2 separate regions of the Homo sapiens genome follow, and region 1 is linked to region 2. Evidence: promoter capture Hi-C in human tissues and cell types (Jung and others, 2019). All regions are on one chromosome and are shown on one strand. The core of a region is centred on a gene start or on the middle of the fragment in contact, and the rest is flanking DNA. Distances in the headings are between cores, read along the strand shown.

What was found. The method cuts DNA at HindIII sites, captures the fragments that hold promoters and counts their contacts. A contact is called where the count stands out against the background at its distance.
Region 1: a fragment that was not itself captured here is called in contact with the fragment with the promoter of SDR42E1 in region 2 in 1 of the 25 tissues and cell types used here (dorsolateral prefrontal cortex).

The regions. Positions count from the first base shown.
Region 1 is chr16:83,441,179-83,446,191 of GRCh38, reverse strand. All of the region lies in intron 6 of CDH13 (cadherin 13), which reads right to left. Among named protein-coding and RNA genes, the nearest start is that of CDH13-AS1, 44 kb to the right of the region's middle. The HindIII fragment of the contact is 3,864 bases long and covers 933-4,796 here.
Region 2 is chr16:82,009,846-82,014,908 of GRCh38, reverse strand. SDR42E1 (short chain dehydrogenase/reductase family 42E, member 1) reads left to right here and starts at 3,439. Exons shown (of 3, transcript NM_145168.3): 1 at 3,439-3,522. RefSeq lists enhancers at 3,095-3,174, 3,185-3,274 and a silencer at 3,515-3,664. The HindIII fragment of the contact is 11,252 bases long and covers 1-5,063 here.

The sequences.
Region 1 (5,013 bases), core at 1,615-4,114, 1.4 Mb before region 2:
AGCTGGGATTACAGGCACATGCCACCATGCCTAGAAAATTTCTGTATTTTTTGTAGAGATGGGGTTTCACCACGTTGGCCATGCTGGTCTTGAACTCCTGACCTCCTGTAATCTGCCCCCCCACCTCAGCCTCCCAAAGTGCTGGGATTACAGACCTGAGCCACAGCACCTGACCTTCCTCATGTTTTTCTATACCCAATAAAAAAGTTTGATGGGGGAGGGATGGGGATAATGCTTTAGAAATCTTTTAGTTGCCTTTTTGAGTCAAGAGGCACAAAGATCTCTGAACTGTCTGTTGTTCGGCGTGGTTTGTAGGAATCATCTTCCTCCTACTTCAGTATCTCCCCAAGTACCTACTTGAGGAAGACTGGGAACTCCGAGTTATATTTCCAAGCTAAACACTTCTCCCCCTACCTTAGGACAAGTTTTAGATGCTTATCAGATCTTCTAACTGAATTCTGGAAATCTCAGCTATTCCAGTTTTACTTAGCCACGTGATGAAAACATCTATTCAGAATTCTAAAAGCAAAAAAGGTGGAGAAAGAAAAAACATGATGGTCTTTATCGCTAACAAAATGTGCAGAGAGAAATTAAAGCCAAGTGTGAAAGTTCCTTGCTATCTTCTGGTTGCGCCTTTGTGGAATACTAACGCAGCTGTGGGAGGCTATCGGTCCAGAATCTTGGCTTCCTCCACCCTGCAGCCAGGTGATAAAGCTCCTCCTTAATGACCCAGAAGCCTGAGGAAATTGAGGCCAAGTGTGAACACAGCAGGATCTGATTTTCTAGGCCAGAAATTCATTTTAGGGAAAACTTAGGAAGCTTTTCTGAAATAACTTTTCTTCTTTTGTAGAAGAATGATTCGGGTAGGTGAAAATGATGCAAACCTTTTATAATTTATAAAACCTTTTATAAATTATAAAAGCTTTTATAAATTATAAAAGCTTTTATAAATTATAAACTCTCGCAGCCTCAGTTTCCTCAGCTGCAAAATGGGAAAACTATTACTCAAATGTCAGTGTTGTATGAGGATTAAATGAGAGAGTAGTAGCTGGCATGGAAGGAGGTCACACCTGTGAGTTTATTCAGACTCCACTGCCATGAAAAATATCAAAAATTAAGAATATAAATAATCCCTGAAAGGCAAAGTCTTAATTAACTAGCATGGCCTCATTTGAAAAAAATCCCAGCCCTGTGGTTTCTGAATATGGATAAACAATGCCATCCTTTCTTAAGAGCTTTAATTTCCTACCTGCAACGTGGGAACAGAGGCATTTTGGTCCATTTTTGGAGTCTTCCGTGAACTCCCCCTTCATCAGAGGAAAGCGCTGATTTGCTGATTTGCTGATTTGGGGAATTTTATACCTTCAGGCAAAACCAACCATGAGAATATTTTCATTTCGAACAGAATATTATGAATGAAATAAATTAACTCGGCAGTCAGAGATTTAAGCTGGTTTCAGCACACTGCCCCACAAAGATCTGCCATGCTACCCAAAACATTATACTCCAGCTCGCCAGTTACTATTATTAAAAACAGCATCACCGGAGGGACATGAGCAATGATGGCCCTGAAAATTCCTTGGGCACTATGACTGGCTCTTCACAAGAGAGGACATGGTTCTGGTGCTCAGTGACTGGGTTGTAAAGCCTGGTTCTGCCACTCATCAGGTGGGTGCCCTTGAGCACATTACTCAACCTCTGGGTCAAGATTTTAAAAAATCTTTCCAGGTGATTCTAATGTATAGCAAAATTTAAGAAGTATTGTCCTTGAGCAAGTTCCTTACCGAGTTTAAACTTCAGTTTCAATATCTTTAAAATGGGAAAATCACAGCATGTACTTCATGTGATGGTGCTGAAGATTAAATAAGATAATGAACACTCAGGGCTTAAGTGCTTAACATATCTGTTACCTAGCAAGGGTTCAATCAATGTAAGCCTCTACCATCATCGTCATCATCATCATCATTACTATGGTCATCATTATCATCATCATCATTGTCATCACTGTTGCCATCATCACCATCACCATCATCATCTTTGTCACATCAGCAGCCACATCTTCATTGTTGCTATTGGTATCTTCACCATCATCAACCTCACTATTGTCATCTTTGCCATGATGATCATCACAGTCATCATCAGCCCATCATCATCACCATGATCATCGCCATCACCTTCACCACCGTCTTTGCCATCATCATCATAATCAACACCATCACCTGACTCTATAGGAGGTACCATTGATTTTTTTTTTTTTTTAGAAACGGTTTCCTCTGTTGCCCAGGCTGGAGTGCAGTGGTGCAGTCTTGGCTCACTGCAGTCTCAACCTCCTGGGCTCAAATGATCCTCCCACCTCAGCCTCCTGAGTAGCTGGGACTACAGGCACATGCCACCAAGCCTGGCTTGCTCTCGCTCTCTCTTTCTCTCCATATATATATATATATATATATATATATTTTTTTTTTTTTTTTTTTTTTTTTTTTTTTCGTAGGGACTTCGCACTCTGTTGCCCAGGCTGGCCTCAAATTCCCAGGCTCAAGTGGTCCTCCTGCCTCAGCCTGCCTAAGTGCTGGGATTACAGGTGTGAACCACCAGCCCAGTCTGACACTGATTCCTTTAGGAAGACTAGAGTGCTTTATACTCAACATGATAATCTTGAATTCCTGATTCTGCTTTTAGTACTTCAGAAAAAGTGAGGGGCTAGTAACCCGTAAAAATTCTCTAGACATTTTGATTAAATTCTATTTAGGTCAAAAATGTATAAATCAAACCTTTTCGTAACATTCAACACGCACTGAGAATGTGCTCCTAATGATGGTCCTGTCTGTGGGTGCAGTGCTCCAAGCTCACTCCTTAGATTCTTTCACTCATACCTGAACACCTGTTGCGGAAGGGCCTCCCAGCCTCTTTCTCAGAGGCGTGGCCTCCCCAGGGGTGAAGCAGCAAAAACGCAGCTAGAACTCCATCCACCATTCTAAGCATCACTGTGGGAGTAAGTCACCCACCCTATCACATTCTCAGCTTCAAATAAATTCCTTTCTGCGTTTGGCATGGAAGGTGATAAGTATTTTCTGAGCGATTTTTCAGTTGCAAACTTCAGTCTGCTGAGATGAAATATGCAGATTGAGGTCTGAACAGCTGTAGCACTGCAGAGTGGCTGGTATTTTGGTGGGCTTTATTTTAAAGTCTTTGAGAGTTCAATCTCACTAAATAATTCAGCTGTTTAGGAAAAGCCATATGATCTTAAAATAAGTCCCTGAAGGTCAAGCATATAGGGTGAAATTTTATTTTTCAGTAAATAATAGCATTTGACAAAATAACAGAAATGTCCCTTATAGTATCTCTTCCTTTACATCTTTGAATGAAATTACCAAGTGCACATCACTGGATGTTCATTTATAAACATTTTACATCTTCTCCATGCCTTTCTGGCAGAGTATTAAGGTAACATTCTGATATCACTGTTCCCAATGAAGTTAGAGATTCTAAAGAACAATTTCAAAATGCAGCCCTAACTTGGGATGTCACTGATCACTTGGAAAGTCGTTTGTTACATCTAGTCCAGAAAAATATAAGCTTCTTGTCATAGAAAGGCTGAAGTATTGACTATAAATCTATAAAGAAAAAGAAAAAAAAAACTTGCAATGTGAAAGTTTTCCAGGTCAAAGCTGGATCTCTCTCATCCATCACTGAGTTCTCCAAGGTGACATGCAATTCAGGAGAAAAGCATCAGCATCCAGAAAGATACTGGCCAAGGATGTCTTTGTGCTCTTTAATGATGGGTCTTTGGCTGAATCACCAGACTGGTAGCTTTGGAATAGCTGCTCATGGAGGTGGGAGGCAGGATGTGGAGGTCCTTGGATAAATCTCATCTAGATTCACATAGAATCCTGCACTCGTCAAGGCTGATGGGATCCTGAAGTTCATCTACCTCAAATACCTTCTTGTCTCATTTTACGGATGAGGTAACTGAGGCCCAGGGAAAATAAACGATAGGTGCCCATTAAGGCACTCAGTGAATAATAAACCCAGAGCTAAGACGCAGGTGGCATTGGAGGAGCATGGTGATAACCATGCTTTGCGTCAGAGTTGGCCTGTGTGTTCCTCCGGTCCGACTGCAAGTACAGGCATGGCTATTTTGCTTGTGGACAAAAAAGACTCTGTCATCTCGCTCCCAGCTCTTATGGTGTGACCTGGGCCAAATCATTCAAACCCTCTCAATCCCAGCCTCCTTATAGATAAAGCCCTCTTAATAATCCCTACCTCATAGGGATGTTGTATCAATGAACTTCTATATTTAAAAATATCCTGAACAAAGCCTCGTATACACATTCATGAATTCATGCCCTCTGATGCCCTGAAACATTTCCTTTTGGAGTAGAGTATAGGGTCCAGAGCTGAATCATCATCACATTTACTCATAGGGCTCCACCAGGTACTCTCTCTCTTCCCAGACACCGTTTCTATCCGGGTTCAGGGAAATGAAGTCATTTCACTGTCACAGAGCTAACTGACATCTTGGTGGCAGCTGTGAGTCATAAACCGTATCAGGAAAAGCAGGAGCTGGGCTTCTCACAGCTTGCAAAAGCTGCCCAACTCTAAGGAATGGCATGCAAAAAAATGTTGTAAAGAAACTTTCCTCATTTATCATAAAAACTGTTAATGTTCCTTTTTAAACATTAAGAAAATATCACTGACCAAAAATTGGGAAAATTAAAACCATCCCTAATTCTACCAATCGGGGAAAGTCACTGTTAATATTTGGTAGGAACATAAGTTTTACATACATTTAACATAGATATAGATTAAGCTGATGTTCTAGAGCTTGTATTTTGCCAATTGTAAATGTATTGTGTTTTTCCCAAGTAATTGAATTGTCATCTTTCAAATGGATATACAGTATTCCATCACTCTTATTATTTCATTACCAGAGTGGTACTCAAAGTATTGAACAACAGGTAGAGATTGAGTGCCAACAAATGACAGGCGAGAGGAGTCTCTGGAAGATCCATC
Region 2 (5,063 bases), core at 2,190-4,689:
AAACCTGATGAACATAGTGGGTATCCTTACTTCTCAATTCCTGAAAACAGTGAGACAAGAAAATGGCAAATATAAGCTTTACTGTCTCAAAGGGTCCTTTGTGTCCTTCTAGGAGAGCCCCTAATGCTTCAGCACTGAACACAGAGCCCTTGCCAGGACACTCACAATAACATGTAGGTTTAGTCAGCACTATTTAAACACTTAGTTTAATCAGTACTGAGAGAGGCAAGGGTAACAATAATGAATTATTTCAAAAGTTTTTAATAGGAAAAAAGAAAAGCCATTGACCCAAATAGTATGCTTGATAATTCTTAATAAGTGCTATAAATGCTTCTAAAAGAATATTAAGTTGCTTAATTGCTGAATAAATGAAATATAAACATTATGTTACTTGGAGAGTTCTTTAATATGTAATGAGGAAAACCATTTTATGAAATGTACTGCATGTGATAAATGCTTGTTTTCTTTTCTAAAATCAATTATTGAAGCCATTAACCACTGTTTAAATATAGCTCAATTTTTTTCTGTCTATTCCCCTTTATATTTTTTTTATTAGTGAAAGAAAATAGGTTTATCTAGGAAAGACAGCTGCATGGTGAAATAGATGGAATGTGGAGGATATGGGAGTCAGAAGCCTTGGCTTTTTTTTTTTTTTTTTTTGAGACAGAGTCTCACTCTGTCGCCCAGGCTGGAGTGCAGTGGCGTGATCTCGGCTCACTGCAAGCTCCATCTCCTGGGTTCACGCCATTCTCCTGCCTCAGCCTCCCAAGTAGCTGGGACTACAGGTGCCCACCACCTCACCCAGCTAATTTTTTGTATGTTTAGTAGAGACAGGGTTTCACTGTGTTAGCCAGGATGGTCTTGATCTCCCGACCTCGTGATCCGCCCGCCTCAGCCTCCCAAAGTGCTGGGATTACAGGCGTGAGCCACCGCACCCGGCCAGAAGCCTTGGCTTTTAATCACAGGTCTGTCATTTACTAGTTCTGTGACCTTGGGTAAGTCACTTAAACTCACCTGATTTCCAGATGCAGTGTGGAACTATTACAAGGTTTCTCTTACCCACCTCAGAGAGTTGTAGTGCTACTACTACTAAGTCATAGCACTTTTAGGGCAGTGCTTATCAGCCTTTACTATACATAGGAATTACCTAGGGATTTTGCTGAATACAGATTTGTATTTATTAAGCCTAGAATGGGATCCAAGACCCAACATTTCTAATAAGCTCTCAGGTGATGTTGATGTTACTGATCCACACTTTTGGATAGCAAAGTTCTCATGTGCCTACCAAGCTCACAATAATTTCCGTTCTTTAGAAATGACCACAGTTTATAGCAGTTCTTGTGTCCTTTTGCCACAGCTGACAATGGTAGAGGTGATTTCTGATCCAAGCTGGGCCAAAAGAAGGTGTCGTTTGCAAGCCTGGGATTTTGAACAGGGACAACCAGAAATGTGACATATATTCATTTGCTGATTCATTCACCAGTAAAAAAAAAAAAAAAAAAAAAAAAAAAATTCTGTCTCTATGCCAGACACTATAGTAGGTAGTGGAGATACACCAATCAATCAAGCAGGTCTCTGCACTCACGGAGCTTTCATTATAGCAACATGCAAGATAATTTCAGATGAGCTAAGTGCTGTGAAGAGATTGAAGAATTTCAAGGGGATGCAGGAGACTTTAAGTGAAAGTGTTGGGGAAAGCCAAGCTCTTACTTCCTCTTCTGTAGTGACCTTGGCAGCCAAGAGTTGAACATGATGGCATAACAAATGGGGGAAGCCTGGGTCCCTGAGTGATTATGTGGAGCACAGCACTCTTCCCCTTCCCTGCAGACTGAATTGGACTGTGATCGGAGTGAGAAATAAAATACTGCACACCTGTGAGTAATTGTGACAGCAAACTGATCTTTCTGAGATGCATCCACTGCCTGGACATATTATTGGGGGAAGACAATACTAAACAAACACTGATATACAAACTCACATTGAAGTTAATTTCTTTCTCCAGTCATTTCTGTCTTAGATCTCTTGGTCAGACCTTTATAAAATCAACTCACTAAATTATGATGGAAGCTAAGGAAGCAATTATAGAGTTTGTAATTTTCCTTTAAAACACGCCTGATTATATTTTAAAAGAGTCCTCGGTGGCACAAGAATACTAACATTTAAATTCACCATTTCTCATGTTTATCCACACACTCTAAATCTGGGTATCCCTCAGAGGATCCTGTAATTCCCCAAAGGAAGTCTGTCTTCTTTACTGCATCCTCAGTGGGTCTTTTCTTCCTTAGCTGCTGGCCTCAAGAGCATATAGCTGGTCTCTCAGCCCCCTGAATACCCTTCCTCTTCTCTTCTAATTTTTATGTATCCTAAGCAGCCACTGCAAAGCTGTTCTTTAAGACTGCTTAGCACAAGAAGTCTCCTGTGACTTATGCCTGCCTAATAGGTGAGGACAAGACAGGCAGGAAAGCCAGAGCATCCTATGAGAGAGGCCAGTGCCAGGGACTGGCACTTCTTGATTTCTTCACCTGGGCTTCATTAATTTTTATATCCTAGGACTTGAGCTTTGTCCTTGTGACTGTGTGTGCTTAGTGAAAACTGAGCAGTAAATCAGGCAATTGATATGAACCTCTCTGAGTCTGCCTTTGGTACCAGATCTATCGGCAAGAGCACCACATGAAGTCAAAACTTCCATCCTCCAAGACACTAAAATGAAATCCTCCCCAGCCAGGGGTCCATTCCAGGATGCATGTCCATACACGTGTACAGTCTGCAACCATCCACAGAACCACACTCATGATGAGGAGACAAAAGATGGGCCTCAAAAGGAGACCTCTGAGTGAGGATGCCAACTTTCCTTTCTGCATTCCTTGGTTCCTTCAGCAACAAAGATTAGTCTTGGCATCACTGCCTGCTTGGCGACCAGAACAAAGAGAAATAAGGAAAATTAGGGACACAGGAAAACCTATGGGCACACATAGATATGGAAACTCAGAGATAATAGAAACTTAAAGAGATACATGGAGAGTGAATATTCTGCCTCCCTATAGAGCCTTTTCCATCATCCATCCACCCAAGCAATGCTGACCTGAGTGCCTATTTATCAGGCACTGGTCTTGGCCTTGGGGATAAACAAAGATGGAGGTGAAAGTCTAAAAGCAGACACTGGAGGTGGGAAGAGCAGTTGACGTGGCCCTAACAGGGTTCCCACCACGGCGGAACGCACAGACAGGGGACGTGGGGGAAGACGTGACCCTAAAAGGGTTCCCGCCACGGCGGAACGCACAGCCAGAGAACGTGGGGGAATTCATGAAGCGAACCTCCTGCTACCTCAACGCCGGTGAAGGTGAAGGAGACACCTGCGCGTCATAGAGACTCCGAGACCTCCAGGCTTCCTAGAGAGGCCCGGAAGTGGCTCCAGGAGGCAGGTCCGACGGCTTCGGCGCCCCAGCTGTGGTGATGGGTAGCTAGGAGGCCTGGGCCTCTCTGCCTGCTGTAGCCGTCTGCCGCGCCCTTGTTCCTGCAGCTGTGAGTGGGCCTGGGCTGGGGTTGGGGGGCCGCCGCCCTTCCGCGGGGACCCTGGACCGCCTCGGCCTGGAACGCGACAGGTGGCGGTCCCGGGGGTGGGGGACGGTGGTGAATGACTGAGCAGGGTGGCGGGAAGGAGTATCCCCTTTCAGATGTCTTCCTGATCCCAGGGGACCGGGCGCAGCTTGGCTTTCTAGAATGTCGCCAAGGCCTCAAACACTGGCCCTCCGCATTTTTTGTTTTTAAGGACATCGGGGCCCCAAGCTCCGAACTTTCCACAGGTGGCTGGCTATACTTGATTCCTGTCTTTGATTTTCTGCACACTTTGGGAGAACGATTACCTCCTCTTTATCACTTGGTTCTGGTTTGCCACTTAAAAGTGGCAGTGACAGGTTCCCATTTAAACTGCATGTATTTGTTGGGAAAAGGTAAGTAGGTTTAAACAAAACCTTATAGGCTAGTCATAATACCAGATGAATCAGATGTGACAGAAATTGTGGAGGTGGAGTGAGCCCTGAAAATCTGAGACGGGTCTCAGTTCATTTAGAAAGTTTATTTTGCCAAGGTTGAAGACATGTACCCATGACACAGCCTCAGGCGGTCCTGACGATGTATTCTTAATGTGGTCAGAGCCCAGTTTCGTTTTCTACATTTTAGGGAGACATGAGACAAGAACAGATGTAAGATGAACATGTTTTTCGGTCTGGAAAGGCGGGACAACTCGAAACGGGGAGGGGGCTTCCAGGTCATAGGTAGGTAAGAGACAAATGGTTGCATTATTTTGAGTTTGATTAGCCTCTCCAAAGGAAGCAATCAGATATGCCTTTATTTTAGTGAGCAGAGATACATGAATAGAATGGGAGGCAGGTTTGCCCTAAGCAGTTCTCAGCTTGACTTTTCCCTTTAGCTTAGTGATCTTGGGACCCCAAGATTTATTTTCCTTTCACAGTGATAAGATAATGACCTAAGCGAATCTGTATTGTCCCAGCCTTATTGTGCGGCATTACATGTAGTGGTTAAGAGTCATACAGACCCGGCTTCAAGTCCTGAACCCTGCCCAACCCCTTATGACCTGCATAATTTGTGGGCAAGGTTCCTAACCTCTGATCTATTTTCCTCATTTCTGAAAGCTGATGATAATACTAGTAACAACTTCGGAAGATTGTCCTGAGGCTTAAATGCTAAACCTTTAAACTACCTGTATTAATCCATTCTCATGCTGCTAATAAAAACATACCCAAGACTGGGTAATTTATAAAGTTAAGAGGTTTGATGGACTCACAGTTCCACATGGCTGGGGAAGCCTCATAATCATGCCAGAAGGCAAAAGAGGAGCAAAGTCACATCTTACGTCTTATATGGTGGCAGGCAAGAGAGCTTGTGTAGGGGAACTCCCCTTTATAAAACCATCAGATCTTTTGAGACTTATTCACTATCAAGAGAACGGCATGGGAAAAACCCACCCCTGTGATTCAGTTACCTCCCACTGGGTCCCTCCCAGGACACGTGGTAATTATGGGATCTACAATTCAAGGTGAGAT